7 separate regions of the Homo sapiens genome follow, and regions 1, 2, 4, 5, 6 and 7 are each linked to region 3. Evidence: promoter capture Hi-C in 16 types of primary human blood cells and fetal thymus (Javierre and others, 2016). All regions are on one chromosome and are shown on one strand. The core of a region is centred on a gene start or on the middle of the fragment in contact, and the rest is flanking DNA. Distances in the headings are between cores, read along the strand shown.

Region 1 (3,876 bases), core at 941-3,440, 2.2 Mb before region 3:
ATGTACAGTAGGCTTAAGATAATAAATGTTTTTGTTTATTTGTTTGGAGACACGGTCTTGCTCTGTCACCCAGGCTGAAGTGCCATGGCGCAATCATGGCTCACTGCAGTCTCAACCTCTTGGGCTCAAGCAATCCTCTCACCTCAAGCTCCCAAGTAGCTGAGATGACAGGCACATGCCACCATGCCCAGCTGATTTTTTTAATTTTTAGCAGACATGAGGTCTTGCTATTTTTCCCAGGCTGGTCTTGAACTCGTGAGTTCAAGCAATCCTCTGTCCTGCCTCAGCTTCCCAAGTGCTGGGATTATAGACGTGAACCACCATGCCCAGCCAAGACTAATACATTTAAAGCCACCATTTAAATACTAAACTACACTACTGAAAAAAAAAAAAAAAAACATGAAAAAATCTTTAAACATAGCATGAAAACAAAAAAATATTTAAAAGTTTAAAGAATCCTCTAAAGGTTCTGAAAAGACATTAGGGTAGCATAAGTTATTAATATTTAAGACAGAGCCATTTACAAAAAAGAAAATTAATATTTCCTGAGTAAATTAATTAAATCATCTATTCAATGAAAAGCAACAACCTTTCTGAGAAAACAAAACAAACGTTTTTTTTTTCCCTTGGGTTTTCTTTTTTCCCAAAAAGAACTGCGTTCTTCTCTCCATCAACCAGATACATCTTCCTATGCATTATTTTGAAGAGTCTCTAAAGCAAAATAGTATTTTAAGAATGTTATAAATCTAAATCACGAAAGAAAAATTATGCTTACCTCCTCTTCCTCTTTCATGTGAGGAAGAAAATCTCTTGTAAAAGCCTCCAATCTCTCTTTCAGTTGTTTTGCATAATTTAACTGTTCATATTCATTCTGGAAACCAAAAAAAAAATACATTTTTATAAAAGTTTCGCTTCATTAATTATGTCTGGTCCCAGGAAGTTTAAAATGTGACATAAAACCTCCGGGGAAAAAAAAATAGACAAATTGCAAAGTGGTCTCTGTACTTTTAACATAAAAGATACCCATAAAACAGTAAGCTTTGAATTACTTTAGTAATGTATGTAACCCCATATTTTTAAAATATCATAAAAAGTCTAAAAATAGCACGTATCTGCCCACAGCTTTTATTGATGTATATATAAATTATATACATTTATATAATTTCTACATGTCAGTTCTCTTAATGTATCTCCAAGCCTAATGGACTGTATCATTACAGAATCCCTTTATGGTCATCTAGTGTCTCCTCCACTAAAAAACTCAGAATATAGTTGACCCTTGAACAACACAGGTTTGAACTGTGCGGGTTCACTTAATTACCGATTTTCTTCTGCCTCTCCCACCCCTGCAACAGCAAGACCAACCCCACCTCTTCTTCCTCCTCAGCCTACTCAATGTGAAGACAATGAGGATAAAGACATTTATGATGATCCACTTCCACTTAATAAATAGTGAATAGATTTTTTTCTTCCGTATGATGTTCTTAGTAACATTCTTTTCTCTAGCTTACCTTACTGTAAGAATCCAGTATATATATTTTACATATAATACATGAAATAATTGTTATTCGATTGTTTTATGTTATTGGTAAGGCTTCCAGTCAACAGTAGTAGGCTGTAAGTAAAGTTTTGAGAGATTCAAAAGTTATACGTGGATTTTCAACAGCACAGGGTGTTGGCAACCCTAATCCCCATGTTGTTCAAGGGTCAACTGTACCTGTTAACATTATCCTGCCAGGCACGGTGGCTCATGCCTGTAATCCCACCACTTTGGGACGCAGAGGCAGGCGGATCACCTGAGGTCAGGAGTTCAAGACCAGCCAGCCCAACGCGGCGAAACCCTGTCTCTACTAAAAATACAAAAATCAGCCAGGTGTAATGATGGGCACCTGTAATCCCAGCTACTCGAGAGGCTGAGGCACGGAGAACTGCTTGAACCTGGAAGAAGGAGGTTGCGGTGAGCCGAGATTGCACCACTGCACCTCAGCATGGGTGACAGAGCAAGACTCTGTCTTAAAAAAAAAAAAGAAAAAATTATTTGATGTAAGGTCATATATATCAATATCAACACTTCTAAAGGCAAGGTGCTCACTATATCTTGAAGTAACTCATTCTAATTCTGGGCAATTCTAAGGAGCTATAAACTTCTTCCTCATAACCTAAAATCACATTTCCCCACTTCTATATCAGCCCTCTCAAAGCATGTGGAAAATTTATAAAATAATGAAAACTTTTTTTTTTTTTTTTAAGACAAGCCTTGCTCTGTTGCCCAGGCTGGAATGCAGTGGTGCAATCTTAGCTCACTGCAACCTCAGGTTCATGCGATTCTCCCACCTCAGTCTCCTGAGTAGCTGGGACTACAGGTGCCCATCACAACTCCCAGCTAATTTTTTTGGTATTTTTAGTAGAGATGGGGTTTCACCACATTGGCCAGGCTGGTCTCGAACTCCTGACCTCAAGTGATCTGCCCGCCTCAGCCTCCCAAAATGCTAGAATTACACGGATGAGCCACCATGCCCAGCCTATGAAAACTTTTAAAATATGAAAATATTTTATCTCTGTTAAGTCTTCTCTGGTCTCTTTTTCCAGAACTAATTTATTCAACTGCTTCCCAATATTCAGTCTAATGTCCTGTTCTCTTACGACTTTACACATTTTCCCTAAGCATATCCACATGGCTTCCATTCCTACTTATATGCTAATAATAACTATCAAATTTGCTTTTTCATACTGGGTCACTCTTCTGACCATGAAATCCATCTTTACCACCTCCTATTCATAAATGCCCATCTGGATTACACAAGCAGTTCAAACCTAATCTGTCAAGAATGAATCTTTTTTATTTCCTGACCCTCTTCTATATACTCTAGAAAGTCAGGCTGAATCCTCATTTTTATTTCTTTTCTCTTCTTTCATCCTCCCTTTAAGTATAATCACTACATTCTATCAATTTTATTTCCTACATAATTCTCAAGTCTGATCCCCTCCCCTTTATTTCTACTAGTCATGACTTTAGTTCAGATTTGTCGAAGGTGTATTCATGTGGCAATACATAATATGATACAAAATTCAAAGAATACGAAAGAATATTCAATAAAAAAGTAAATCTCCCTTCTATTAATATTACTATCTAGTACCCTACCCCAACCAAACCTCCCACACCTCCCCACCAAGTAGCTACTAAGTATTCTTCCAGAAACTATTAGAATAATTTTTTAATAATGGTCTTCCTCCTTTAGTCTTTTCTTTATCTTTAATCCATCCTCCCTAAGCTGTAGAACAGCCTTTCCAGAACATAAATCTCCAGGTGAGGAGCACATGGTGGCTTAACAGAGTTGTAACTTAAGCTTACGCTTCACCAAGCCAGAAGGGAAATAAACTAAGATCAAATTTCAAAATCCTATAATATGTAAATGTAATTAAGAAGAAAGTCTCTCTACATCATTATCCTAAACTATACCCAGTAATATCTTTAGCTCACTGCAACCTCCGCCTCCCAGGTTCAAGCAACTCTCCTGCCTCAGCTGGGATTACAGGCGCCTGCCACTATGTCTGGCTAAATTTTTATATTTTTAGTAAAGACAGGTTTTCACTATGTTGGCCAGGCTGGTCTAGAACTCCTGACCTCAAGTGATCCACTAGCCTCGGCCTCCCAGAGTGCTGGGACTACAGATGTGAGCCACTGCACACTGCACCTGGCTGGTATTCAATTCTAAAACAAGTAAAAATTTATAAAATTAAAGTGTTTATTCATTCTAAGTAATAATTATACCTTTGGTCACCATTAACTGGATAGCTTTCCTTTAAGAATTCAGCAAATGTTAACAGAATGTAAAAATTTTATAATTAAAACTTCGACTTACAAAAACAGCTTTC
Region 2 (3,698 bases), core at 270-2,769, 2.9 Mb after region 3:
TTCCTCCTTGTTATGTGATGGGGGAACATGAGTGCAACACACTGAAGATAAAGAAGGCTAAGGGATGCTTGTTCATAAATAAGAATAAGATAAGGGTATAGGCTGGGGGATTTTAGTCTCCCAACACACTTTGAAGGTTTGGCTCCTTAGATAGCCCGAGCATGGATTCCTGCCTTCTGCTCCTGCAGAAGGTGAAGGGGGTGGAGGCTGCTGTGACTAGGGCTATGACACTAACTTTGGCTGTTAATGGTGGCCTTCCTTAGCCTATCTCCAAGAATACGGATGCTAGTACAAGTCATGTGCTGTTAACCAAGTATTTTGCCCCTTTCCTTCTGAAGTGGCACTCTATTAAACAGTAATATTTTCTTCCCTTGTTGCTTAAAATAAATGTTTTTAAGGCCTATGAATACTTTGGTCAACATTAGTGGTTTTTCATACTTCCTTCTCTAGGTTTTTAGGGAGAAATGCCTACACTGTTCTTTGAATTGCTTCGTTATTATTATTCCCCAGATTTTCTCCATGTATTAAAGATCCTAAGAATTCTAAGCTCAGACTTTTGCCTCTGTAAATATATTTTTTAAATGGCTGCATAATATTACCCATGGACATGATTCCTAGCCATAGCTCTACTTTGCAGTCAGTCCATCCCCAAAAGACCATCATAGACCACACACTGAATGTTCTACATAGGTTGGGAAAATCTAATGTTAAATATAATACAAAGAGACAACCAGTGATAAAGTTTAAATCCTGAGTCTCCAAGCACATTTTCTTCGAGGGATTCCTTTTTCTTTAGTTTGAGGTAAAAGACTCCAGCAGAAACAACCTCTCTTGACATCCACAAGCCCTTCTAGTAGTGCTCCTGGGTGTGGGTGTCATGAAAATGCAGAGGGTCTCTTACATGTGGTCAAAAACGTTTCAAAGCAGCTCAGCAGATGTATTAGGCTGTAGTCATTCTCCTCTGCTTAGCATTTGGTCAAGATAAGCATTTCCAGTCAATGCTGATTGCATTTAGCCTGACCATGTTTTTGTACGTTTCAATGCTGATCCTATTTTCTCCTTTTAATCGTACAAATATATAACAATAAAGAAAATAATTTTGCTAGCAGTTGAATTACAAAATGTGTTCAACACTCCATTAATAAAATCTCTATCTTGTTCAACATCTCCAGTAAATAGCCTTTATATATTTCCTCTTTTCTATTTGCCAGCTGACAATAGAAAACATTAGCTGAGAGTTGAATGCGGGAAAGCAAAATAAGAGATAGTTATCCACTGCCATCTAGTGGCTAAAAACTTAAAATTCAACCAAAGTTTTTGGATCTTTTTCTTCTAAAATAGTGGAAAAATAAATATTGGAGCATATTTGCACATTTTAAAGGTCTTAATTCTTTTAAATTTTTGAATAAGAATCTGAACAGATAATAAACACATTAAAATTAAGTTTATTTTAACTCCATTACTCACATCTCAACAATAAGACAGGTAAGGTAGTTCATGTGGAGCAAAAAATGAAAGCAAGAATTGACAAGTATTGGGTTATCTTCCCAGGGAAGACAGCTAATGAGGAAGGTTTTACCCTAGCTTAGACCTTAATCAGAAAATTATAGATATCACTGAAGGAGCCAACTCGTTAATTTACCTTCATTGTGCTGTTTGGAGCTATCTTATTCCCAGCACTAATCTCTTTCTTTAAACCAACGTGGGGGCCAAAGACCAAAGTCAGCCAATGCCTCTTAGCAGAAAACAAGTATTTTAGAGATTCTAGCATTGAAAGTTAGAGTTTGGGAACACAGATTAACCTTTTTACAGAGTTTTGATATTGCTATTCAAGGCTGCCCTACTGGACAACTAGAATTTACCCCAAATACGGAGAAATCAAGTGTACTATTCTCTAGAGAAACAGAACCAATTGTGTGTGTGTGTGTGGGTGTGTGTGTGTGTATGTGTGTGTGTGTATGAGAGAGATATTTAAGAAATTGGCTCGTGTTTATGGAGGGTGCCATGTCCAAAATTTGCAGAGCAGAGCCTCAGAGCCAATGCTGCAGTTCAAGTCTGAACGCTGTCAGCAGCAGATTTCTCTCTTGCTTCAGGGAAGGTCATTCGTTTGTTCTATTCAGCCTTCAACTGACTGGGTGAAGATTACCCACCTTATGGAGGGCAATCTGCTTTACTCAAAGTCTACTGATGTAAATGTAAGTCCCACACCAAAGCAGCCTCACAAAAACATCCAGAATAATGATTAACCAAGTATCTAGGCACCATGGCCCAGCCAAGTTGACACATAAAATTAACCATCACACCAGGTGAAATGTACAAAGTGTGAAATGAAAGATTTGGGAGAATTTTTGAAAAGTTTCAAAATGTGCTTTATCATTCACCTGAATAAAATGATTGCTTTATGTCAGAGGTTCTAAACAGCACCTCTCTTTACCACTGACACTTCAAACACCATCAGAGGTACTTGATCATATGACCCAAGTGGTACAGCAGCTTGGACAGCAGTCTGGAGCTGTTGTAGAGCCTTCTCTTGCTCTGGGCCCCACTCAAAACTAGTAGCTTTTAGGGTCTCTCGGTAAATGGGCTATGATAACGCACCCAAGTGTCAAGTATGTTTTCTCCAACATCCAAAGAGGCCTACTAGGTGTTGTATCTCTTTTTTTGGTTGTAAGAGAGGACAGATGCAATGTGTCTTCACCTATCTCAACATGCCCTACACCACTGGATCCCTAGAAATTTGACTGCGGTGGAGGTACTTCAATTCTGGTCAGATTTATTTTCCACATTCTGACATGTAAATGTCTTCTCAATAAATATAGAGTAGTTGTTACTTCTTGCTCATTAGGTCCAATCATCATAATATCATCAGTGCAAATAACCAGTGTAACTCGTTATGGAAGGAAAAGACTATCTGACTCTCCATCAATTAAATTATGATGTATGGCAGGAGAGCTGATACACCCCTGAAGTGGGACAGTAAAGGTGTGTTGCTGGCTTTGTCAGATGAAAGCAAACTGCTTCACCTAGTCTTCACAAATGGGTATTGAGCATAAAAGCATTTGCCAGATCAATAGTTGCATACCAGGTACCAGGGAATGTGTTAATTTTCCCAAGCAATGAAACCACACCTGGTACAGTAGCTGTGACTGAAGTCACCACCTAGTTTAGCTTTATGAAAATCCACTGTGCTTCTCCCAGTTTTATCAATTTTCTACACTGGTCAAATAGGTGAGTTGAGTGGAAATGGGATGGCAGTTACCACTTCCATATAATTTAAGTGCTTGTTGTTGGCATTTATCACTGATACCCTTCTAGGCATGTGATGCTGCTTTTGACCTATTATTTTCCTAGGTAAAGATTGTTCTAGTGGTTTTCCCTTGGCCTTTTCTACTACTTTTTTTGCCCTCACTTCACAGGCCAGGGAATGAATGTGAAAATTCTGCCAGTTTCTGAGAATGTCTATTTAAATTATGCATCCCAGAAATGGGGAAATAATCACAGCATGGGTTCAGGGACTCACTGGAGCCACTGTGGGATAGATCTGAGCTAAAACTCCATTGATCACCTGACCTTCATAAGCCCCTATACCAACTGGTAGACCACAGTGACATTTTGGTCTCCTGGACCTAGTGCCAATGTTTGCCAACTCCTATGCTAAAAAAAAAAAAAAATCCAGGGTAGACACATTTGTTCCTTTA
Region 3 (3,781 bases), core at 293-2,792:
CCTCATCTTAAAAGAAGATCAAAGTTATCCTACAGGGTTTGTGAGCAGTAAACGAAGTAAAGTGCTTAGCATGGTGTCTGGCACATAATAAAGGTTAATTAAGTGCAAGTTACTATTATGAACATATCAATATGAACCACAGCAATATTGATTGAAAAAAGCCAGATGCACATATAATTATTCATTTAACGGTTAAAACATGCAAAATAGTACAATATCCTCATTCAGGGATTTATTCATGTCATTAATATATTAAAATATGTCATTAAGATATAGAAAGCTGCATGGTAAAAGTTAACAGTAAATTCAGAAAATCCATTACTTCTTCGGAGGGCAGGTAATTCAAAAGGAGAAAGATGTACAGGTGGCTTTAGTAATGTTCTATTTCTTCAGCTGGCAGTAGGTTACTGAGGTGTAGGAGAGGGAAAAACGGCTTCCCTCCATCCTCCTAGGTTCTTTGGCTGGGTTACAAATTAACCTGACATAGACATTAACAAGAAAAAAAACCCGTACTTAATTACATACGCAGAGGAGTCCCACCATGGTCAGATGATTGAATATTATACAGCATCCTACGCTACTCAAGAAATGGGGGCTTGCGGCTTTCTGGGGGATGGTGGCCACAAAGTTGTGGAAAGGTGAGGGGAGGAAATATACGGTGAATAAAAGTTGTCTTGGTATGCAGATAAGATCTCCCAGGTAACAAAAATTATCGCAGAGCTGCCCTCTTTCTGATACAGATCCTTTACTGATGTATATTTCCTCTGTAGATGTCAATTTCTTTTACAACAGGACAGATTTTCAGAGCGACTCCTGTGTCTGCATTTTATCAGAATACCAGCTCAAAATATACTCTAGAAGTATATTGTAGGGTGGCATATTTTGGTCTCCTACAGTCCTATTTTTGGATGGTGCATCCTGAGATCCAACAGAAGTTCTGTCTGATATAATTTCATTTAAAATTTAAAAACCTAGTTCCTACTCTTCTTTATTTTAACCACTACCCGAAAGACCTTTCCATTCTCTTGAGTTCTCCCTTAATACACTGTCCTTATGCACACTTGTAAACAGGGCCTACACAGCTGCACATCTAGAAACGGCAGCAGCTAAGTTAGCCCGCACCCCCCTTCGCAACGATCCCCGGACTGCCTGCACGCCCTGTGGAACCTCGCAGTCGGCTTCACCAGGGCAGGGACTAAGGCCTTCAAAAGACAGCATCCGTCTCCACTAACCTCGGGTCGCCCCGCTCAGCGGACCCAGCAGCGTCGTCTCCCTTCTCAGAGGTGGCCGGGCCTCCGGAACGCGCTACGAACTTTCCTTTGTCGCCGTCTCTCGAAGCGGAGCCCTCGTGTGGGGATCCCCCGCCCTTCGGCCACAAGGGAGGTTGTTATCCTCGGCAGATCTCCCGTTCTCACTCTTGGAGGATCGCTTTTTCTTTCTAGCCTCACGCTCAGCCGCACGACCCAGCCAGGCCTAACGCCAGCAGCCCTTCCCCTCCGGTGGCAAGGCCACTCCGCTCAGCTCCCGCGCCGACGCTACTTCCGGCCGAGTCAAGGCCCCTCCCCCTTAGAAACGCCACTTCCCTCCGTGAAAACGGCTGGACAAGGTTGAACCTAGACGCATGCGCCCAAAGCGCGGGGTGCGAGGTGGGTGGACCCATCGCTTCCCGCTCTCTTCTCCCAAAGCGCTTACGGCAGTCTCGCGGGATTTCCCCCTCTCGCGGGAATTATTTGAACGTTCGAGCGGTAAATACTCCCTGGGGCTGTCATAGAAGACTACTCGGAGAGCGCTGCCTCTGGGTTGGCGGGCTGGCAGGCTGTAGCCGAGCGCGGGCAGGACTCGTCCCGGCAGGGTTCCAGAGCCATGGGAGCGGAAAGGAGGCTGCTGTCGATTAAGGAGGCCTTTCGGCTGGCGCAGCAGCCGCACCAGAACCAGGCGAAGCTGGTGGTGGCGCTGAGCCGCACCTACCGCACGGTAAGCGCTCCCGGCCCCGGCCGCCGCCTCTCGCCCGCCCCGGCCCACCCTCCCTCAGGGGCCCTCCGTGGCCCTCGGGCTCGGCGCACCGTGACTCCAGCCTTGTTCACCTTCGCGACTCACTTCATAGGGATCTGAGGTTCGGAGAAGTCAGGGACTTACCCGAGGTCGCCTGGGCCCAGGCCAGAAAGCCTCCGAAGCCTGGGCGTCGTTCACACGGGCCCCGCCTTGGCTTTTCTGAGCCGACACCCCCAGCTTCTGGGCGGCGTGGACCGTTATTCCTTAGTCCGATCGTGAACGTGGAGAGAAACATTTACGACCACCGAGGCGATCAGACATCAAATATTGAACCGCAGAGTGGATCCTGAATGCGGGGGTTCAGTGGTCGTTGCCCCTGGGGTCATCGCTCCCCGCCGAACATCAAATGATTCTACCCTTGTCCTACGGTTACGTTGAATCCAATCACCAAATACCAAATTATTTTTAGGGCCTGGCCATTCTTATTTATGTACATACTATTTGTTTGTTTTGAGTGGAACCTTGAGAAGAATAGAACAATTAATTTGGGGAAGATGAATTATCTTGAGGTCCAAGAAAAATTGTGAGTAAACATCACAGGGCTTTGAGGATATGAGATAGGATGTGCAAGTTATCTCATAAAGAAACTGCTGGTGATAGGAAGGCCTGAATATGAGAAATATAAAAGCCAGTATTGATTTTGGGTTGTTGAAGAAGCGTATTTGTAACGTACTGGTACTAAAGGCTTATTGAGAATCAAAGATATTGAAAAAAATATATCAAAGGAATCTTTTCACTGTCAAAAGTCAAGCTTGTGTACTCCCATTATAGCCTGGAGAGAAATTCATGCAAATTGATTGCCCTTTGGCTGGTTTGGATAATTAAGAGTTTACTAAATAAATATTTTAATTTGTCTGCATTATTATGGCTAGTGCTTTCATCAGTCTTAGGGTGATGTTGGGAATAAAGGATTTTTATCGGTGCAGTTTATGAAGGGTTTCTTTTGTCTTTCAGATGGATGATAAGACAGTTTTTCATGAGGAGTTCATTCATTACCTTAAATATGTTATGGTGGTCTATAAACGTGAACCAGCTGTGGAGAGGGTAATAGAATTTGCAGCAAAGTTTGTTACCTCATTTCACCAATCAGATATGGAAGATGATGAGGAAGAGGAAGATGGTGGCCTTTTAAATTATTTGTTTACTTTTCTCTTAAAGGTACTATGAAAATGATAGCTTTGGGGAGGGATTTTAGAAAATTTTGCCACTTTAAAAGAGTCGTGGGAGTTTGTATGTTTTTGACAATGAAATATCTAGTGATTGAAAAAACCTGAATGAGTCTACCTTTCATAGGAAATATTAGAATTATCATTATGATTAAAAAGTGGACTTTAACTCCAGCATTAAATTTTTAATGACCTCTTTAAACCAGTTCTCCTTTGTTTATTTTAAATGAGTTCTGTATTTTAGAAGCCTCTACAAAGAGGACTATGTAACTTAGCAAAGACTTCTTTCAGACTGTTCATTTTGAGACTGTATAAAATATATATATTTGCTATACATATGGACCAAGGTAGCATTATAGGTTCTCTTCAGGAAATGAATTGTTGTTGTAACTTCTTGCATTCCGAATGTATAGAGTTCAGATAATATTGATTATTTGGGAGTGGTATGTGACTATGAATAAATTTTGATTTGTTTCTGTTTTAGTCTCATGAAGCAAACAGCAATGCAGTGAGATTTAGAGTGTGCCTGCTCATAAACAAGCTTTTGGGAAGTATGCCAGAAA
Region 4 (3,629 bases), core at 72-2,571, 2.9 Mb after region 3:
TGTCGTTAAGGTAAAGGATAAAAATTTTAAGTGAAAAAGCAATTGTTTTGGAAGGAAATTCTCTAATACAGGATTTTGAAAGGGGATGTAGACGTGTTTGCATTACTGTATGTTTAATGCTGAAAATTATATATTGTACATAAAAGTTGTCCTGTATACTCATAAACTGTAGAAGCTCGATTTTCTACCATGTTTAAAACTTTTTCAAATGAGTTTTGGTGACTTTTTGAACTCATTCAAAATATAATGCAACACCTCCCCATTAGTTTGTTACAGGAACAACTTTTTGACGTGAAGGAAGATAGAAATTTAGCCATAAAATTCCATCCAAAACTTCCACTGAATTGGTAGGTAGTATTGAAAAATGTGCATCATAATTTGATATGGCTGCCTGTGCCCTTGTTATGTTTGTGGGTACGCGTCTTTGCTGTGCATCGCTTTTATCTGTTGCAGCTGTTAACAATTGATGATCAAGAGAAATTGGACCTCAGCTGGTCTTCAAATTGATGTAGCCCAAGATGTTAAGCCAGATTTTTTAAAAATGACAAAACATGTGGTTTCACTATTAGTAATAGTAATACTGAAGAACACTTTGTACCATTGTAAAGAAAATTATAATAATAGCTAAGACTCATGTGGCCCTTACTGCATGCCTCCCATTATGGAAATGTTGTTTTACATATATTCTTACTAGTCTTCATCAACACTTAAAGTAGTTCCTGTAATTATGCCCAATTATAGAGTTGAGGAAACTGATGCATTTTTTTTTTCAATAGAAACTTGTGTTGTTCCCCCTCCAGGAGCTTCTCAAAACAGAAGTCAGGCACAATATTAAATACTTGTTGAATGATCACAGAAGTACAATAGTAGGTTAACATATTTAAAGCTTCTCTCAGCTTATTTTAGACTATTATCTGACAACTTTAATGAGATTTTAATTACCGTAGTATTAGAAAATGGCCCTGGGAATGGAGGTGAAGTGTGATACTGGGAAGTAAGTCATCTGCTGGTAGTGGGATGAGATAAATGAGATCAATGTACTAAATCAAGGAAATTGAAATTATTCAGTGTGCAGAAGCAAGCTTACATTTAGGTTATCTTTACATGGTATCAGACTTTAAGCTGGTACATCATGTTTGAGATATCTGGCTAAATTTTATAACATGGAGCTTTGTCCTCCTTTTGAGGATTTCTAACTTGTTAAGTGGATTAAAAGCATTTCATGTGAGGAATCATTTTAAAAAGTATCAGTGTTTATCCTGAAGAAGAAAAAATGAAGGAGTTAAGAGTTAATGCCATCAAATATTTGAAAAAGTGTCATTTGGAGGTGGAAGAGGACTTTACCTGTGTTGTCCTAAGGGAAGATCTTACACTATACTTGAGAGGCAGTCATTATTAAAGGCATTAAAATGAGACGTGTGCTAATAGAATAACTAGATTGTCGTGGAAGTGAGGGAACAGAGTAATCAAGTAGAAATAAGGACACAGGATAGAAATCAATGCCATAGAAATACACATTTGAGAAACCAAGATGAGGAAAGGCTTCATGGAAGTTGGGAATGAAGCTTGGCCTAAAAATACCAGTAGGCACTTGGGTATATGAGTGTGTGTGTGTGTGTGTGTGTGTGTGTGTGTGTTTGTGTGTGTGTATTTCTTGCTAGAGATACAATTGTAGAAATTGATTGGATTAGCTGGAAACCTTGGGGTATGAACTAGAGTCCTCCATTAGCAGAAAAAAAGCAACTGTGTAAGGGAAAAGTGAACCAGTATTCCCTGGGTGAGTAACTTGAGAGATAATTTCATTTGCACCTCCAGAAAACCTTGACAGGCTTTTATTTCCCTCTTTAAACAGGTCAGGAAGTCGAGGTTTAGGGAGGTTAAATAATCTGCCTAAATTCATAAATTTCATAATTGGTAGAACTGAGATGCAGACCCATATTTGAGCCCAAAGCTCTTTCTTTCTCATCACGTGTAGCATTGAGTGTAGGAAATGAAGGAAAAGGAGACAATGGTGATTCTAAGTTTTTCAGTCTGAGGACCAGAAAACTGGTGGTACCCTGGGTTAACAAGGGGTTCATAATAACTTCAGTGTGACAACCTCAGTTTTAGTTACATTCAGTTTAAGGAGCTTGTGATACATTGGGTAGGAGAGTTCATTATGTCACTGGAAAAGTAGAGCTTGATGTGCACATGTTAACATTTGGAGCTTTGGAAATACAGAGGCCAGAGAAGATGGAGAAGATGACAGGGAATGTACCAACCACTCCTTTCAGAAATCTAGTCTGTGTTTTCTAATGTGGTCAGAGAATTGGAAGTGAGTTTCTAACAGTTTATTTTGACAATTTGAATGGAAAAAAAGTTGACTTTTGTACATCATTTCTTGGAGATGATTATTTTGCTGTTATTGATACTATTGAAGTTGACATAATTTCATGTTTTCTCATTAGTCTTTTCCAGTATTTTGCTCCATATCAACTTTTTTGTGTGTCTTTTACTGTATTGTATACTCTGTTCTGGTTTTGTCTTTTTATTGATAACAAATGCCCCTCCAAACAAATTTTGAAATCAACTTTTTTTTTTTTAAACTGCAGGAGTGAAAGGGAAGCAATGCAGAAATCAGAGGGCTCTGGAGGTACACAGTTGAAAAACAGAGCAACAGGTACAGAGCTTTTGTTTTTAAGTGAAGAGGTCAAGTTTGTTCATGGCACTTTCTGTGCTACAGATGGATGCAGGGTGAACTTTATTGCTTGTACCTGGTTTCTATTGATGTTCTGTTTTTTTCCAGGTAACTATGATCAAAGGACATCATCAAGCACACAGTTAAAACACAGGAATGCAGTTCAGGGAAGCAAATCCTCATTGTCAACCAGTTCTCCAGAGTCTGCAAGAAAACTTCATCCTAGACCAAGTGATAAACTGAACCCTAAAACAATTAATCCGGTAGGTCCAAAACTATTCCTAACTCAGTAGATTTTTTAAAGGCATTTCGCACAGTATTGAACAATGCTGGATGCTGTGTTGAGTTTTGTCCCTTTGCTAGTTTTGAGCTAATAATGAGAGAAGGGCATGTGGTTATTATGATGAAGAACTGAGATAATCAGTCACATGTGGGAGTGAGTATGGAGGTAAGGAGACATAGAAGTTAACCTGTTTGGGATATCGCATTGTAGTGCATAGAAAATTGCACTTTAGCTTTAGATTTTATTTGCAGTGTTGTTTTACTTCCCCATATCAATGAATAAACTGTATTCAGTTGCCACAGAATGCTTTTCGTGCTTCTATAGTTGCATAAAGGTCTCTGACCTTTCCTGTGTTCTGTAAATTAGTTCCACCAGAAATCCTAGTTGTAGTACTAACCTCCTTTGCCCTCTCCTAACAATTTAATGAGATTTAATAAACATGGGATTTATGCAGTAAAAATATTCAGAAGTGAACACACCTGTGCAACAACACCAGGTGTTATTTGCCCCATGCCCAACTTTGGTAGGGTGAGATGTTAGTGATTTCAGCCTTCGAAGGGGATTGTGAGGGTGGCTGAAGCTCCTGACTGACTGTGGTGGTAGGTAGGGGTATGGCAGTTACTTAAGGAAGCAAAGGTATAGTGAGCTCTCCAAGACAGAAGGAGTGTC
Region 5 (3,815 bases), core at 53-2,552, 2.1 Mb before region 3:
GCCTCGGCCTCTTCAGTAGCTGGGATTACAGGTGTGCACCACCACGCCTGGCTAATTTTTGTATTTTTAGTAGAGATGGGGTTTCACCATGTTTGTCTGGCTGGTCTTGAACTCCTGACCTCTTGATCCGCCCGCCTTGGCCTCCCAAAGTTCTGGGATTACAGGCATGAGCCACCGTGCCTGGCGCCAGTTTCTCTTATAAACAATGCTGCAATGACTAATCTGGTATATTTATTATCTTTCATGTGGGCAGAGATATTTGTAGGTTGAATTCCTAGAAATGGGGTCAGTGAGTCAAAGAGTAAATGCATTTGCAATATTAATGTATTCATTCTTCACTGGATCTCTGTAGTTTAGCAATGAATTGAACAACTGCATATTATTTATGGGTGAAAAGCCCCAAAGAAAAAAGAAATGCTGAGTCCAGATGTCACCTTCAGTCAATGTAGAGTGGTGGTTACCACCAGTGATGAAGGTCTTAGAGTGTTTATGCATCTGTGAGTGTGTGAGTGTGTGCTCATTTGTGTACTCTGAAAACCCTATTTGAAAAAAAAAACTTAACCATTGGGTTATTAGACAGATAATCACTTCACTCCAATTTCAAATCAATGAGTTTCTTATTCCAGCTTATATTCCAATAGTCCAAAGCTTCCAGGGAATAAAGGTAAAACAATCTGAGAGCTCTGAGTTCCTCCACAGGGCAAGTACCATGTAAACTGATAGATGATGTTAAGGTTCTCAAGGTGGTGACTAAACAGTTCTCCCAGTCTCTGCAACATAAACATAAACTTAAAAATTACACTGTAAGCTAGATCTTCATTTTGAAAATAACCATGGAATTTGAAAAAATAAAACTGAAACAAACAAAACACACCACCATGAACAACAAAAACAACAACAAAACAAGGGGGAAAAACCGACTTTCTGGTGTTTTTGCTAAAAGACTGCAGGGTGGGTTGGGGGAAGCTCTTCTCATAAAAGAAAAGTACTAGACAATCTGGTCTTTTAAAGGGTCTTGAAAACAGATTATGCAGTAAAACTGAGCTGTCAAAGACCCTCAGAGATGGTCGTACCTGGCTAGTCCTATGAAGCGCCCAGCTAGAGGAGAGTTTTCTTTCTCATTTTCAATCGTGGTTTGTGGTTAAAGATGTGCATGCCAATGGCAGGTCTGGGGGTGAGATGTGTTTGAAAAAACGTTGAATTTATATTTGCAGTACCAGCCAGACTCAGGAAGTGACACTCAACCACATTTTCCTGACCTGGGTGGAGATTAGTTGAGAGTGTGTTTGATAGGTTAACACATGTTGAGAAACATTTTGACATAGGACGTGTTGCATATAACTAGTTTTATGAAGATGATGTCCTTAATGGGTATATCTTCTATGAATGACTCAGGTCATCATCATAGACTTGGGTTATTGTAACATCTAGCAGGTATGTTGCGCTGTGGAGAGCTGTTTTTCCCCCTAGCGGCCTCGGAGGGTGAGGTTTGGAGTGCTATTCACATTTTTCTGTGCACTGGCTGTGCAATGGCCAGCCATATCTCTTTCCAAGATGCTCATTTGTTGGGGCTCAGGATGCACCACCTCAAAACATACTGTGGGAGACAAGATGTGCCACCCCAAAATACACTTCCTGGCATATTTCAAGCTGGTTATTCAGATACACTGCAGACGCAGGAGTATCTCTGAAAAGCTGCCCTTTGTAAAAGAAATGTATGCCTATTGTAAATTGAAAGTTAAGTTTCTTGTAAAAGAAATCTATATTAGTAAAACCATCTGTATCAGGAAGAGGGCTGTTCCTAGACAATTTTTATTACCTGAGATACTTTATTTGCATAACAAGACAAACTTTTATTCACCTTATATTTCCTCCCTCCCCTTCTCATAGCTTGTCTCTACCACCCTCAGAAGCCCCAAGCTCCTCCTATTCCTTTCTGTAGCTCAGGCTGCTATATAAGCTTCAATCATCTGGTCTTTCTTCAACTCTCATATTTTCGCGGGACCCCTGTGCCAACGTGTGTAGTTAAACATAGCTTTTTTTCTTGCTAATCTGTTGTGTGCTGATTTAATTCACAGCCATGCCAAAGAACCCAGGAGGGTGGAGGTAGACCATTTGGTTCTCCCTGCACGAACTGCAGTGTATTTTTTTGGGCCCAAGGTCAAATACCAGCTCCACTGTCCTAGTCCTGTGACCTTGGCTGAACAGAATAATGATCCTCCTGTCTATAAAGAGGACAAAAGCACACCCCCACCCCGCCCCGCAGACTGTTCTGAACAGTGGTCCCCTGTTAAAGAAAACTTCTCCTCAACTTCACTCCCTCTTCACCATTTCTTTCCATTAATATTACAGAGAATCCTTTATAGGGAATTTCTTTTAAAAATTTTATTTATTTATTTATTTATTTAGAGAAAGAGTTTTGCTCTTGTTGCCCAGGCTGGAGTGCAATGGCAGGATCTCGGCTCTCTGCAACCTCCATCTCCTGGGTTCGAGTGATTCTCCTGCCTCAACCTCCCAAGTAACTTGGACTACAGGCATGCGCCACCACACCTAGCTAATTTTTGTATTTTTAGTAGAGACAGGGTTTCTCCATGTTGATCAGGCTGGTCTTGAACTCCCGACCTCAGGTGATCCGCCCTCCTCGGCCTCCCAAAGTGCTGGGATTACAGGCATGAGCCACCGCGCCCGGTGGGATTTTCTTAAACATTAAATGTCTAATGTTTTAAAAACCCAATAACATCAGCATTTTTAATAACAATTTTTATTGTAAATTGACAATTTATAATTGTGTATATTTCTGGATACAACGTGATGTTATAATTTATAAATACAATGTAGGATAATTAAATTAAGCTAGTTAACATATCCATCATCTCAAATATTTAGCATTTTTTTTCAACTTTTATTTTAGTTTCAGGGGGTACATGGGCAGGTTTGTTACACAGGCAAATTGTGTGTCACTGGGGTTTGGTATACTAATGATCTTATCACCCAGGTAGTGAGCATAGTACCTGACAGCTGGTTTTTCAGCCGTCCCTCCCCTTCCGCCCTGTCTCCTCTAGTAGTCCCCAGCGTCTATTGTTTCCATCTTTATGTCCATGTGCACTCAATATTTAGCTTTCACTTAAACGTGAGAACATGTGGCATTTGATTTTCTGTTCCTGCATCAATACACTTAGGACAATGGCCTCCATTATCCTAAGCTACATCTTTTGCGGCTGTATCCATGTTGCTGCTAAATATGTGGAATACTATGCAGCCATAAAAAAGAATGAAATCATATCCTTAGCATTTTTTTGTCATGAGAACATTTGAAATTTACTCTCTTAGCAATTTTGAAATGTATGATACTGTTTGTTAACTATATTCACCACACTATGCAATAGATTTCAAAGAAACTTCCATATTCCTTCTGAGATTTTTGTACCTTGTTCATCATCTCCCTAACACCCTCACCCTCTAGCCTCTGTAACCACCAGTTTATTCTCTGGTTCTACGAGTTTGATTGTTTTAGATTCTTCATTTAAGTGAGAATATGCAGTATTATTTAAGATCATTTAATTAAGTTTTAGTATGTATAAAGTATTTGGCGTCAATGCCTACCTATTTCTATGGAATGAAACAGAACAAAACATTTCCCACCTGAACCACAACCTGCATGCTGGTGTTGTCTTCACTGCAGGTGGATTACGGAGCTATGGCCTACACACCTCAGTGCCTTTTGTAGGAAATCATGGCTAAGAGTCAATGCTTGGAATCAGGTGGACAGGCATCAAGTCCCATTTCCACCACACGTATCTGTGTGTCCTCAGTTA
Region 6 (3,987 bases), core at 817-3,316, 2.8 Mb before region 3:
CCAGCCCGGCAAGGTCATATTGCAGCAAGTAGGATTCCAATTTAGTAGGTCAGTTTCAGCCTACAGTCTCACTGTTTATGACTCTGCCCAGATAATTAGGGTTGGGAATTATCATAACTAATGTCAACAGTATTTATTTACAGCCTCTGTGAGGATGTACAGAATAATGGATATATTTTCTGTTCTTTTCACAGTTATACCCATAGTGCCTTGCACAGTGTCTGGTACAGAGCAGGCACTCAACAGAGAGTTTCTGAATACATAAATCAATCAATAAGAACTAGGAAAATTAAAGAACATATAAGGCATAGCAACTGCCTACAAAGACTTGTAATTCAATCGAGTTCACATGGCCTTAAAGATACAAGATAAGTAGCAATAGAGAAGTCAGTCAGTCTACGTAAGGGCCCAGTGAGCATCGTGGCAGAAATTACTGGAGAGGCTGACAGGTTCTCTCCTAGGTGGGGGTATTGGAGTGGGATGATAAATCCCCTGGATGCCACAAAGGGTAACACAGACCTTCTATTATGTTTCGGGGCTACACTTTGTCATCAGGGGAAGATTCTTGATATTTTTCTTTGTCAATGAGTTCATCTTTGTATGGCATAATAACCAGAATAGAGATCGTAATAACCAGAGTGAAACTTTTAGTTTGGTATTGTCAAGGAAAAAATATTGGGAAGGAAAATAACTTTTTTGTCATTGTTATTATGATTATTCATTTTATTTTTTCTCCAGTAAACATAAGGTAACAATGCTACAGTTATCCACAAAATGGCTCATGTCTTTGTAAAGCATGCTTTGGAAACATCTACCTCTTTCCTTCCTTCCATCTCCCTCCTTCCTTTCCTTACCTTGTTTTCTCCTTTTCTTCATCTTTTCTTCTTACAGCATTCATTGGGCAATTACTAATCAACAAATACTTATTGGGCACTTGTGTTCCAGGAATGTGAAAGGCAAGGGAATGCGGAGATACATGAAGGAATTACATTTGAGTAACGTTTCTGCAGTATAATTGACAGAGCATGGTTGACAATTGTTTTTGGAGGGTGAGAGAGATGAAGGAAGAGGATGACTCATGTTTCAGCTTGAGAAACTGGTTGTGTGATGATGACGTCAGCCAAGACAAGAAGCAAAATAGGAGAAGCAGATTTTGGGGAAGATGTTGAATGCAGGTATAGACACATTGAATTGATGTGGCTGAAGGACACCCAGGTCAAACTGTTAAACAGGCAGTTGGAAATATGATTTTGACCATGAGGCTAAAGAGATGGATTTGGAAGACATTAGCATTTAGATGATGTTTGAAAACATGATAATAAATTCATCTAGAAAAAGTAGGTAGAAATATAGAAAAGGACCAGAAACATAAGCCTAAGGAACTCTCACACGTAAAGAATATGTAAGGAGAAAGTGAAGGAGGAAATTATGAAGGAAGGTTTAGAAAAGTAGGAGAACTAGAAGTAATTGAGGATGGTACTACTCTTGAGTGCCACATCAATAAAGCACCTTGAAGTTGGTCAAGGTCAGAATGAATCTTAATTTCTACTTTCTCCTTTTCCAACTCCAAACCAGAGCTAATTAGCTCCCATCTAAAGACTCAAAGCTTTCCCATTCTGTGGGGTTAATTACATTTATGGGCATGGGCTCTGCCACAGAAAGAAACCAGCAGCATGGAAGTAAGGCATCCAGTTGACCTTAACTGCAGTGCCTCCTGAACTGGTTCCATTTCTATGAGATGGGGTCTTGACTCCTCTCTTTGTTCAAGCTCCTGTAATGAACCCCTGTGTTCCTGGAGTCCCAACTCTAGTCTCCTGAGACAGAAGTTTTCCCCCTTGTACTCCAGGGTTATCTATTCCCCAGCGTTATAGTCTTGGGATGACTTACCTGTCTTCATGTACTTATCCTATATCTGACAATGCCTGGAATTATTTTTGGCTAGTTTAAGAATCCTAGGAGCATCTGCATGGTGTTTGGACAGCTCCTGAAAACAAATTAACCATTTATAAACAGACCCTTGTATTACTATTGTATTCTTTTAGCTATCATTTCCTAAAATTGCTATTTATTAATTCAACAACCCCTTTAATAAGTGCATGCAATTCCCAACTCTTGAAAGCCTACTATGTGCAAGGCATCGTTGTAAGTGCTGAGGATACAACAGTGAGCAAAACAGGCATGGACCTTTCCTCATGGGCTTGTGATCTCAGAGAGAGGACAGATAAACAGTTCAAGTACATAGTGGGTCAGATGGAAACACAAACACCTTATGAGGAATAAGAAGGCTGGGAAAGAGTGGCGGCGGGGGGTTGTCATTTTATTACAATGGTGGTCAGGGAAGACATCACTGAAAAATGACTTTTAGCAGAGACGTGAGAGAGACATGAAAAAAAATGATAAAAACATGATTAAGTGAGCCCTGTTGCTACTTAGGAGACAAGTATTCCAGGTGTGGGAATTGCGAGGGCAAAGGCCCTAAGGCTGAATTGGCCTGGGCTGTTACAGAAATAAGCATTCCACTGTAGGGAAGCTTTCAGAGGGGTTAGTGGTGGCAGGAGCGATTCTGAAGAACCTTTTGGTTATTAAAATGTTTTGACTTCTATTCTGAGAAAATGTAAGTATTTAGTCAGAGGAGTTGACATGACCTGTCTTCCACTTCAGAAGTATCATCCTGGCTGCTATGTTGGGAACAGACTGGAGAGGGGCAAGATCAGAAGCTGGAATACGAGTTAGTAGGTGAGAGCAACGATGTAGCCTGGTCCAGGCTGCTTGTGGTGAGAATGGGGTGAAGTGCTTGGATTCTGGATATATAGGCACTCCTCGCTTTATTGTGCTCTGCTATATTGTGCTTCTCAGATAATGGGTTTTTCACAAATTGAAGGTTGGTGGCAACCCTGCATCAAGCAAGTCTATCAGCACAATTTTCCCAACAGCATGGCTCAATTTGTATCTCTGTGTTACATTTTGGTAATTCTTGCGTTACTTAAAGCTTTGTCATTATTATTATATCTATTTTGGGGATCTGTGATCATAATATTTAATGTTACTAGTGTAACTGTTTTGGGACATCACAAACCACAACCATATAAGACAATAATTTAATCAATAAAGGCTTTGGGCTTCCCTATTCCCTGAGACAAAACAATATTGAAATTAGGCCAATTAATAACACTCTAACGACCTCTAAGTATTCAAGTGAAAGGAAGAGGTACATGTCTCTCACTTTAAATGAAAAGCTAGAAATAATTAGGCTTAGTGAGGAAGGTATGTGGAAAGCTGAAATAGGTTGAAAGCTAGGCCTCTTGCACCAAGTAGTTAGTCAAGTTCTGAATGCAAAGGAAAAGTTCTTGAAGGAAATTAAAAGTACTATTCCAGTGAACACGAGTGATAAGAAAGTGAAACAGCTTTATTGCTGATATAGAAAAAGTGTGAATGGTCTGGATAGAGAAAATTAAACCAGCCACAACATTCCCTTAAGCTGAAGCCTACTCCAGAGCAAGGCCCTAACTCTCTTCAATTCTGTGAAGGCTGAGAGAGGTGAGGAAGCTGCAGAAGAAAAAAGTTCAAAGCTCGCAGAGGTCGGTTCGTGTTTAAGGAAAGAAGCTGTCTTCGTAACATAAAAGTGCAAGGTAAAGCAGAAAGTGCTTATGGAGAAGCTGCAGCAAGTTATCTAGAAATCTAGCTAAGATAACTGATGAAGGTGGCTACACTAAATAAGTTTTCACGTAGAAAAAACAGCCTTCTATTGGAAGAAGGTATCATCTAGGACTTTCATAGCTGGAAAAGTCAATGCCTAGCTTCAAGCTTCAAAAGACAGACTCTTTTCTTAAGGGCTAATGTAGCTGGTGACCTTAACTTGAAGCCAATGCTCATTAATCATTCTGAAAATCCTAGGGCCCTTAAGAATCATGCTAAGTCTACTCTGCCTGTGCTTGGTAAATGGAACCACAAAACTTGGAAAGAGCATAGTTTACTGAACATTTTAAG
Region 7 (3,636 bases), core at 303-2,802, 2.8 Mb before region 3:
GAACCAGAGCCTAGAGAGATTTAGTGACTTCAGACGAAGAAACTAATTGCTTCTTATAAAGTGTGATATCCAGACCAGCAGAATCAGTATCACCTGGGAACTTGTTAGAAATACATACTCTCAGGTTCCACTCCAGACCTACTGAATTTGATGTGTTTCAGCAGTCTGTGTGTTTAACCAGCCTTCCAGATGATTCTGAAGCATGTTCAAGTTTAGGAACCACTGTTACAGCTCATTGATTCTTTGTGCCTCCATCACTAATCAAGGTCACTGTTCTAGAGAGCAGCTGTTATTGATGCATGTGTTTTACCTCAGGGGCCTTTCAGTAAAAATCAGTAAAGAGTACTGATAGAGTTAATTGGTGATAAAGCTGGAATAAGAGCCTCCAGTCTAGCATTCCTTCCGTCATTCAGTGTTACTTTTTACCTTTTTAAATCCCTGACAGCAACTTAGTCTACAGTACTGATTCTGAACCCCTAGCTTTAAAAAGGCTACAACCCTAATTTAAACATCAAAGTAAAGTAAATAAATGAACATATTCTTAGAAAAGCTTTTTAGGTTTTTCTTCAGCTTTCTAAAGAACTGATTCTGAATCTTCTCTGGATTGTGGACTCCTGTGGAAAACTGATGAAAGCTATAAACCTTTTCTTCGGGAAAAAAAGAAATTATGTACACACTAGTCCCCCCTTATCCATGAGTGATACGTTCCAAGACAATCAGTGGATGGCTGAAACTGCAAATAGTGCCTTCATATGCTGTTTTTTTCCAATGAAGACATATGATAAGGTTTAATTCATAAATTAGGCACAGTAAGTGATTAACAACAATAATAGTAAAGTAGGACAATTATAACAATGTAATAAAAATTATGTAAATGTGGCATCTCTGTCTCTCAGAATATCTTATTGTATTGTCCTACAGATAACTGAAATCGTGGAAGGCAAAATGCAGAAAGGGGGGACTACTGTACACCTATGAACAGTATATTACATATAATCTCAGAGACTTCTGGTCTCTCTTGAAGCTAATGGACCCAGGTTAATAAGTGCCTTATTTTGATTTCTATGGGGGCTTTTATTTCCACTTAATTTTCAGATTCTTCCTTTCCATTTTCTGTGACAGTCATTTTTTGAGAGTTTAGAATGGACTATCCTGTATCCCCCACGTATACATAAGCTTACACATGCGTGTATACACATATGTAACTGGGTGGGTGAGTATTTTGGGAAGACTCCTAGATTATTTGGAGGGCATGGGCCAGAGCTTCCTCTAGTAGTTCACCACATACCTTTTTTCAGGTACACTGAGTATGTATTGAACAGAATACAGTAGAAATTTATGGACATTAAAGAGTCAGATTCTTTCAAATAAGCAAGTGAAGGGATTGAACATTCAGCAAAGAAGATTCTGATAACAAGACTTTGGAGACTTGGTGAAGTAGCAGACTTAATGAGATTACTGTGCTTTTACTCTTCTCTCCTCCACCTGCCTATTTTGCAGGGGAGTTGGGGGAGGCCGGCTTAAAAATGCAGAGACAAATATGGAAGCACTTTAGAGAGTAATATATGAATCTGAATATTCTAGGCATTAGTCCCTGTTCTGGTTATTAGTATCTTATGCTTTTGATTTTTACCGTATAAGATGTTTATGCACTCATTATTAAATTCAGACTACTATGTCAGATAACAAAATGTTTGATAGATGTTTAAAGTATGGTGCAATTATGGAACTAAAATATTTCCTCCCAAATATTTATTTTCTATGTGCCACTATCTGTCTTCCTAAATATGTGAGAAAAGTTTTGAAATTAACCAAAAAATGCTTTCTGTGTGTATAAGATTTCAGGAAACTTTATAGAGAAAAGTAACTATAGAAATTATTTTACTGTTTTGCATTAGTATTGCCAGTAAAATTAGATTACTTTTGATAAAAGCTTTAAGAGATAAATATACTGAAAATAATGTCCTCCAATGCAAGGAACATTGTAGTTCATGAGATCTTTAGTTATTGGTATTTTTGTGGGATACAGATTAATTAGTAATAATCAGAAGTCCTATTTTATGTAAGAGAATTTAGATAGTGTTTTATAATCGCTTTTTGAAAAAACTGCATAGATTATAATGTCTTTTTTCCTCTTCTCTTCCAGGATCGAAGTAGAATGTATGACAGTTTGAATATGCACTCTTTGGAAAATTCCCTTATCGATATTATGAGAGCAGAGCATGATCCTCTTAAGGGTAGGTGACTTTTTAAAAAAATATATGTTTATATTATACACCAATTTGCTTATCTTACTAGTTTTTATATGAAAGTGAAACCTAAGTAGCACCTATATCCAATATAAAACTCTCTTACACATTTATTAATGAGAATCTTTGTTTTTATGAAATGCCATATTTTTCCTTTGTTGCTTAATGTGAACTCACCTCCCTTGACTTACAATTTAAGGAAAATTTACTATTTAGAGACATGCTTCAGTTCACCAGAGAATGAAGGATGGATCTAAAAGTATACACTAGTCACTTTTCTAGAATTCTTTCAAGTACAAAAATACTAAAAATATTTCTTGGAATACTTGTATTCACAATTTGCAGTGATTCCAGCCTAGAATTATCCCTAGTTAACCTCCTTTCTCTATTTTTCTTCTACTGTCATAGGGTTTTGAAAGGGGGGGGAGTATTTTATAGTAGCTTCTCTGAGGTGAAAAATAGCTTTTCATAGAAGTTGAGACAAATTAGGGAAAAGAACCGGCCCACTTACCCTATAGTAGCAGTCTTCACTAATTGTTTGTAGTATTTGAAGAAATTTCATTAGCATACTTGTTTTTGTCTGTACATATTCTGTGTATAAAATGAAAAAAAGCAATTATTATATATTTTTATACAATATATCACATTGTCATTTATATCAGTGGTGAAAATCTACCAAATTGTCTATTTGAGTCATGACAGTTACTATTTATCTATTGCTACATAATAAATTATCTCAAAACTTAGCAGCTTAAAAACAGCAATAAATATTTATTACCTTAAACAGTTTCTGTGAGTCAGAAATTCAGGAGCAGCTTAACTATTTTATTCTGGCTCAAAATCTCTCATTGAATCAAAATCATGGATTACTTTGTAAATTTTCGCCATTTTTAATTCTATAAAGCCAAGTTAGAATTCTCTTTCAAGATTTGGCCTAAAAACTATAAACTTCCTTATTGGCAGGGAGGTGGTGATGTGGGGCTAAGTTGATAATACTGACCACATATCTAACTATTTTTTTCTGTTTATGGATTTTTCTTGTAAAAAGAATTCCTTGTCTTTTTAATTCCTTAATTTTAAGGAGCTTGAGAAGCTGAGGGGATATTAGTGATTGTTGATTATGTGTGCTAATAGTAATTCCTCATACAAACTTATAGTTGTATGTCAGGTTTTTGGGGATGTTTGTTTGAGTTTCTTTTTTTTTTTTCCTTTTAACCAAAGTTCAGCTTAGTTTTTTGAGTATCTTTGTATAGGGTCTTGGTCTTTTTCACTGTTATGCTGGCAGTTTCAGTGGTTTGTCTTAGATCCACCATTTAGAATAGAAGCCAGCAGCTTATGATTAAGAAGTTTCCTGTTTATCTCCTTGGCTTCTCAAGAAAGAAAACTC

What was found. Contacts are between HindIII fragments. The CHiCAGO score rates a contact against its expected background, and 5 or more counts as called.
Region 1: a contact is called between a fragment that was not itself captured here and the fragment with the promoter of DCAF16 in region 3, in 1 of 17 cell types (neutrophils). The highest score is 5.4, in neutrophils.
Region 2: a fragment that was not itself captured here is called in contact with the fragment with the promoter of DCAF16 in region 3 in 1 of 17 cell types (total B cells); the score reaches 6.3 in total B cells.
Region 4: a fragment that was not itself captured here is called in contact with the fragment with the promoter of DCAF16 in region 3 in 10 of 17 cell types (total B cells, total CD4 T cells, naive B cells and 7 more); the score reaches 30.6 in total B cells.
Region 5: a contact is called between a fragment that was not itself captured here and the fragment with the promoter of DCAF16 in region 3, in 2 of 17 cell types (fetal thymus and naive CD8 T cells). The highest score is 8.1, in fetal thymus.
Region 6: a fragment that was not itself captured here is called in contact with the fragment with the promoter of DCAF16 in region 3 in 1 of 17 cell types (non-activated CD4 T cells); the score reaches 5.9 in non-activated CD4 T cells.
Region 7: a fragment that was not itself captured here is called in contact with the fragment with the promoter of DCAF16 in region 3 in 1 of 17 cell types (neutrophils); the score reaches 6.0 in neutrophils.

What each region holds. Positions count from the first base shown.
Region 1 is chr4:15,640,013-15,643,888 of GRCh38, forward strand. FBXL5 (F-box and leucine rich repeat protein 5) reads right to left here. Exons shown (of 11, transcript NM_012161.4): 3 at 776-871. It also overlaps a transcript of FAM200B not described here. Among named protein-coding and RNA genes, the nearest start is that of FBXL5, 13 kb to the right of the region's middle. The HindIII fragment of the contact is 2,309 bases long and covers 1,037-3,345 here.
Region 2 is chr4:20,684,081-20,687,778 of GRCh38, forward strand. No RefSeq gene overlaps it. Among named protein-coding and RNA genes, the nearest start is that of PACRGL, 15 kb to the right of the region's middle. The HindIII fragment of the contact is 8,962 bases long and covers 1-3,698 here.
Region 3 is chr4:17,809,215-17,812,995 of GRCh38, forward strand. It overlaps DCAF16 (DDB1 and CUL4 associated factor 16), which reads right to left and starts at 1,543. Exons shown (of 3, transcript NM_017741.4): 1 at 1,233-1,543. NCAPG (non-SMC condensin I complex subunit G) reads left to right here and starts at 1,765. Exons shown (of 21, transcript NM_022346.5): 1 at 1,765-1,974; 2 at 3,007-3,210; 3 at 3,703-3,781. The coding sequence starts at 1,864. RefSeq lists enhancers at 1,081-1,170, 1,212-1,723, 1,291-1,450, 1,724-2,236. The HindIII fragment of the contact is 3,530 bases long and covers 1-2,801 here.
Region 4 is chr4:20,701,875-20,705,503 of GRCh38, forward strand. PACRGL (parkin coregulated like) reads left to right here. Exons shown (of 9, transcript NM_001258345.3): 2 at 2,592-2,659; 3 at 2,786-2,940. The coding sequence starts at 2,608. Among named protein-coding and RNA genes, the nearest start is that of PACRGL, 3.2 kb to the left of the region's middle. The HindIII fragment of the contact is 483 bases long and covers 1,081-1,563 here.
Region 5 is chr4:15,755,251-15,759,065 of GRCh38, forward strand. LOC107986186 (a long non-coding RNA gene) reads right to left here and starts at 1,176. Exons shown (of 2, transcript XR_001741393.2): 1 at 1,074-1,176. It also overlaps a transcript of BST1 not described here. The HindIII fragment of the contact is 1,312 bases long and covers 647-1,958 here.
Region 6 is chr4:14,993,367-14,997,353 of GRCh38, forward strand. CPEB2-DT (CPEB2 divergent transcript) reads right to left here. Exons shown (of 8, transcript NR_038857.1): 4 at 1,888-1,984. Among named protein-coding and RNA genes, the nearest start is that of CPEB2-DT, 6.7 kb to the right of the region's middle. The HindIII fragment of the contact is 924 bases long and covers 1,605-2,528 here.
Region 7 is chr4:15,015,042-15,018,677 of GRCh38, forward strand. CPEB2 (cytoplasmic polyadenylation element binding protein 2) reads left to right here. Exons shown (of 12, transcript NM_001177382.2): 4 at 2,147-2,237. It overlaps C1QTNF7-AS1 (C1QTNF7 antisense RNA 1), which reads right to left. Exons shown (of 6, transcript NR_125911.1): 3 at 2,761-2,840. Among named protein-coding and RNA genes, the nearest start is that of CPEB2, 14 kb to the left of the region's middle. The HindIII fragment of the contact is 757 bases long and covers 1,175-1,931 here.